Regions from separate parts of the Homo sapiens genome. Here region 1 is linked to region 2. The links are contacts of gene promoters, found by promoter capture Hi-C in blood cells and fetal thymus (Javierre and others, 2016). All regions are on one chromosome and are shown on one strand. Each heading gives the region's core, a stretch centred on a gene start or on the middle of the fragment in contact. The rest is flanking DNA. Distances are from core to core; before and after follow the strand shown. Region 1 holds the start of PARP6 (poly(ADP-ribose) polymerase family member 6). Region 2 holds the start of NPTN (neuroplastin).

Region 1 (2,700 bases), core at 1-2,500, 1.4 Mb before region 2:
AGTACTCACGGCGACCCCGGGCCGCGCGCGGCCGCAGCCGACGGGACGAGCGGCCCGGGACGCCCCGCGGGGGCGGAGCGGCAGGCCAAGGGGCGGGGGCCGGGCCTGGCGGGCGAGGTCGCGCACCCCACGCCTCGTCGTTCCGTCACGGGCGCGCTCAGCCACTCTGCGCACGCTCGCGCGGTGACACGATGGCACGTGGCCCGCTCCTGACCAACAGCCTGACGGCCTGCTCCTGGGCGCGCCTCAGCAGCCGACGCCAGCCTTGAGACGCCTGCGCGGCGGTCGCTAGTCGGGAAAGGGTGCGGAGTGGGGGGTGGCGCCTGCGCCGTGGGTAGGGGAGGCAGTGGAGAAGGAAGAGGGACTCTGGGGGAGTGCGGGGAGCCTTCCAAAGGAGAATACTTGCATTTAGCGCCCCGAGTGGTTGGGAGGAACAAGCAGGAAGGGCAACCCAGGTTGCCTGTAGGCCGGGAGGGAGTCCCCTCGCCGGAGGTTGGGGCCGGCAGGTAGAGACTGAGGGAAGTCCTGAGGCCTTGCTGACTGCAGGATTCTCTGGTTCGACAATGGAAGTCGAACACCTCGGGCTTTTAAAAATTCTGGCATTTAACTCATTTGTTCCCCGGTAGCTGCAGCGTGATGGAGAGCACCCTGGCCTTCTAGTCAATCTGGGTCTGAAGCTTGGGTTCGGCACTTATTGATGGTGCAGCCTTAAGCGATGACTTTCACTTTGTGAATCTGATTTCTCCTCTTTGAGGTGGAGACAGTAATATGTGTTTCACGGAGCCGTTGTGGTGAGGATGAACTGAGATAGTGTTAGGTTGAACCGTAGGAAATTGCTATTTTTGCAGTTTATAAACAGTCAGATACCTTCAATTTCATACGATTCCAACTAATCCATGTAAAGTAACCAGCAGAGTACTTGGGACTAGGAAGTAGTTCATACATGGAAGCTGTAATTGTGGTTATTGTGGTTATTAACCCTAGACATGGCCAGATCTCCTTCATCCTTATTAGTCTTGGGGCTTCCACGTGACCCTCTTTTCCATCAACACTAATGGGAAAAGGCTTATCTTAGACCTACTCTGTTTCCTCACTCCCTCTTTGTAGCTGGACACAGTACACACAAAGAAGGCTTTGGCCCTGAATGATATAAACACGTCATGTCTATCCCTCCTAAGCTGGCCTCAGAAGTTTCCCAGTTAACTTTTTGTTGTTGGTTGATTTACATTTGCACATTCTCAGCCTCTCCTTTCTAACTCCTTCCCCTTTTGATGTCCCCCTCTGCTCACCTTGCCACTCAGCCTGGGCCACAACACCGTCTCGGTGTGAGTTTGTTACATCTACTGCTTATAGTAACTGAAAAAAGTGAGGGATCAATATAACCTCGGTTTCAGAGTGCGGAAGTTCAGAGTGGTAGGGGAAGGAGTCAGGCCTGCTCTCTAAAACAACTCACCATCAAGGGCCCCGTAATAGCTTTTGAGAACCAAGTATGTATGGGAGTGTTTGAACATAAGCACTGTGCCCATGAGTGACAAGTCCAACTCCAGTATTCAATAACCTTTAGGATTCCCCCTTTCCAGCATACCACCACTAGCTCTTCTATTCATCATGAATCTCAGCCACCTCATAGTTTACCAGTATCTTCCAGGCTTCACCTCTTTTCCTACCCAGTCCACATCCTTGGTCAGTCATTTTAATCACATCTTTGTTAATATGCTTGCACTTACTCTGTAAAAATCACACTCCTGGGTCATGCCAGCTATCTACCTTCTCTACTCTCCCATCCTAAACCAGGATAAAGGAAGTCATCCAATCCTGCACACTTAAGCTTGTGAGTGGACACCATTTAGGTTAGTCTAGCCCATGAACCCTATTCTGTGGGAATTATCGTTTCCACACCCACACTATGGATCCACAGGCCCCAGGGCCATGTTCGTCTTGTGTGACCTCTAGCACTTTAGCTGCAGTTTATTGAACTGTGAGTGGATTCCTGGTCTAAGCTGTGTTAAACAGATGTTCTCCTGAAAATCTGGGATTAGAGCTGACAGATTATGATTCTAACTGGACTGGTTTCTTAAGCAAAAGAGACATAGACTTAGGAGCTATGGTACATCTACCTCCCACCTACTATGATGAATGAGAAAAGGAAAAAGACCATCTGGGGACACAGAATGAAGCATGGAGAGGCAGAGACCAGAAATGGTGAGACTACTCTCTGCTTTCTGGCAGCTTCCCAGGCACCCCTCCCTTCCTTCCTTCTTTTTTTTTTTTTTTTTTTTTTGAGACAGGGTCTCACTGTGTTACTCAGGCTGGAGTACAGTGGTGTGATCATAGCTTACTGCAGCCTCCAAGGCTTAAGCATGCACTAACATATCTGGCTAATTAATTTTTTTTTGCAGAGATGGGGTCTCCCTATGTTGCCCAGGCTGATCTTGAACTCCTGGGCCCAAGCAGTCCTCCATCTTGTCCTCCCAAAGTACTGGGATTACAGGTGTGAGCCACTATACCCTGCCCAAGGCACTTTCTGAGGCCCTCTGATCTTGAGGGACTAGGAGTCAGTTTTTATCTAGAATAAATGGCTTAAGCTAACTTAATGTGCACTCAGTACAGAGCTCCTACAAATTCATTGTCTCCTCAGCAGAGTCCTCAGTGTACCCAGCAACCCTTCCCATGTCAGCCTCTCCCACCATCCCCCATTCT
Region 2 (2,700 bases), core at 131-2,630:
CTCTTCTGTCTTGAAACTTTTAAATCTCAAAAATCCACTTCCCCATCTCCCTGTCGCCAGTCACTGCCCTCAATCCCACCACTGCAATTAGTTGCAGCTATGTGTCCCTGTTTTCCCAAAGGCCCGACCAATATCATACAGCATTTGCCACATCCCAACTCCTCCCTTCCCTAATTTATCCTCCACACTGCAAACCAACATTACACCCCCGACTTCCTGCATTTTACTCCCTTCCCTTATTTTTCGTCTTCCCCCACCCCCATCTCTATACCCAGGCCTCCTTACTTCTCTAATAAATATTCCCCCACCTCAGTTCCAACCCTTTCCCTCCATCCTCTGCTCATTTTCCTCTCCTTATTTAGAAACTCCTTTTTGCTCTCCCAACCACTACCCTAGAATGCCCAGCACTCCACCCTCTTTAGCAAACCCAGCCCTCTTCCCCCAGCTCATTTGGAGACACTGCTGCTTCTCTCTCCAGGTCCCCTACTGCAGTCAACCCACTCCCTCATCTTCCCACCCACCTTCCCTCTATCCCTAGATCCAAGGTTCCCTGATTCTTTACCCCCTCCTTTGGTCTCTAGTACTCAGCTCACCATTAGTGTTCCTCAGGACTCTCTTCCCCCCAATTTCCCCCTTATTTTTAAGGATGTCACCAGTCCTACGGGGCCTCAGTAGAATCCTGGACGACCCCAGCTCCCGGGGGGCCTGACGGACACCACCATCCCCGTCGCCCGGAACACAAACGCCGGTCTTGTGCCACCCTCCCTAAGAGCTGCGCCCCCTCCTCATCCGCCCCCGCTACTCCAGCTCCCCACGTCGGCTTCCTCCGTGTCCCCTCGCCGACCCGGCACGACGAGCCCCACGACGTGGAGCCTCCGAGTGGGCAACACCTCGGGCTCACCCCGGACGCCCCCGCCGCTCGGATAGGAGCCTCCGGTCCTCACACCCGCGCCTCCTCAAACCCGCAGCCGGTACCTCCTCTCGGACCCGCAGCCCCTCAGACGCCCACTCGGCCCCCTTCCCCGAGCTCCAGCGTCTCCTCAGGCCAGAGCCGGGCCCCCTCCGGCCCCGGCGCCCCTCAACCCCCGCCCGGCCCGCCCCCGGCGCCCCGCTTACCGTTCTGAGCGGCGCCTGGCCCTGGGAGGAGGGAGCCAGAGACCAGCAACAGCGAGAGGGCCAGGGCGCTGGGCAGCGACGAACCCGACATCCTCCCTAGCAGAAGACCCAACAGCGAATGGGCCGGGGCCAGAGCCGGGGCCGGGGAAGGGAGGGGAGGGAGGGAGGGGGCGGGCGAGTGCGCGAGGGAGTGAGCGAGGGAGGCAGCCGCGGCTCGGCTCCGTCCTTCCCCGTCCTCCTCCTGCCGCCGCAGCGCCCAGGCCTCGCGAGACCTTCGCTCCGGGTCGTGGGCGGCTGAGGAGCGACCGCCGCAAGGATCGCGAGAAGAGGCGGCTCCGACGGAGACTCCCGCCCCGCGGACTCGGTGGCCCCGCCCCTGCAGAGGCTGATTGGCCTAGCGCGAGGTAGGTCACGTGCCGAGGGCGCCTCTGGCCATGTGACGGGGCGAGGCGGGACTCCGCTAGCTCTCTGGGCAGTGGGGAGCTGGGAAGTCCTTCAGTTTACTCCTCTGTGGCCCGGGAGCACCCATAAATAAGAGGAAGCTTTGGAACACAGTACATTTCCTCCACCCATCCTGCCTTTCATTTGTTAGCGCTCTTGGCTACAGAGTTTCATACACCGTGCCTCCTTTCCTCCTTCCTCTCTTTGTCCCCGTCCTGCTGTTTCTTCCTTCTGGACTTTGAACATAGACCTCTACTGGTAACTGGCTCCAACCTCCTTCTCTCATCTGCTGTTTTTTCCTTCCAGGAAAAGTGGTGCGCCCCCTGTGCCCCCGTTACCTTGTGCTTTCCTGCCTGGACATCTGCTCCCTTTGCCTGAAATGTCCTCCTTTGCCGCCTCTGCCTACTCCCCCTCCCACCCCACATCTGGGCCTTATTTTAGCTTCATAGACTCTCAGGGCCTGAAGTTCAGCTAGCCTAATTGCATGTTCATTGACACAATTCTACAAGGAAGTCGTGTATGAACTTACATGAAGACTCCTAAGAAGCGTCTTAATGCGGAAAACATTTATTGAGAACGTGCTGTGTGCCAGGCACATAGTGAAACCCACATGAAAAGGTAGTCCCCGTCCTCATGGAGTGCACTGCCTAGGCTAGCAGAGGAGTGAGGAAGGGTCAAATGGCCCCATAGGAAAGGATCTAGCAAAGCACTCTGGAGGGTGATTGGCAGTGTGGTTACTACTGTTTGCATAGAAGTTTGGGAAATGCTCTTTTTAGGGGTATTTTTTGTACTACCCTCAGGGCTTGTGGTTGGCAAAGGAATTTCTATGGCTTAGCTCATCCCTGACTCACAGCAGACGTCCTGGGAGTGTCTGTGGAAACTCTGAGGGGCCAAGTAAACAGTCCTGGTGGCCTGACTTGATTTAAAGAGAGGGTTTGGAGGACCTGGAAGAAGGAGACCCTCGCAATCTCTATCAAGCTAAAGTGGTCTGGAACTTTCAACAGGAACTGAACAGCTGGTGGTTCCAGACCAAAATTTCTAGCAAAGGCCAGGACCACTATGGCATGTTGTTGATTGAAGTGAAAACTATGTCCTTCAAAACCTCAGGTGTGTGAGTGACAAAAAGATTGGCATGTACCTTCA

What was found. The method cuts DNA at HindIII sites, captures the fragments that hold promoters and counts their contacts. A CHiCAGO score of 5 or more calls a contact.
Region 1: a fragment that was not itself captured here is called in contact with the fragment with the promoter of NPTN in region 2 in 1 of 17 cell types (naive B cells); the score reaches 5.1 in naive B cells.

Annotation. Positions count from the first base shown.
Region 1 is chr15:72,272,494-72,275,193 of GRCh38, forward strand. PARP6 (poly(ADP-ribose) polymerase family member 6) reads right to left here and starts at 61. Exons shown (of 24, transcript NM_001323532.2): 1 at 1-61. RefSeq lists a silencer at 1-223 and enhancers at 364-413, 474-563. The HindIII fragment of the contact is 1,151 bases long and covers 676-1,826 here.
Region 2 is chr15:73,632,009-73,634,708 of GRCh38, forward strand. It overlaps NPTN (neuroplastin), which reads right to left and starts at 1,381. Exons shown (of 9, transcript NM_012428.4): 1 at 1,117-1,381. The coding sequence starts at 1,207. RefSeq lists silencers at 898-1,157, 1,238-1,537. The HindIII fragment of the contact is 2,824 bases long and covers 1-1,656 here.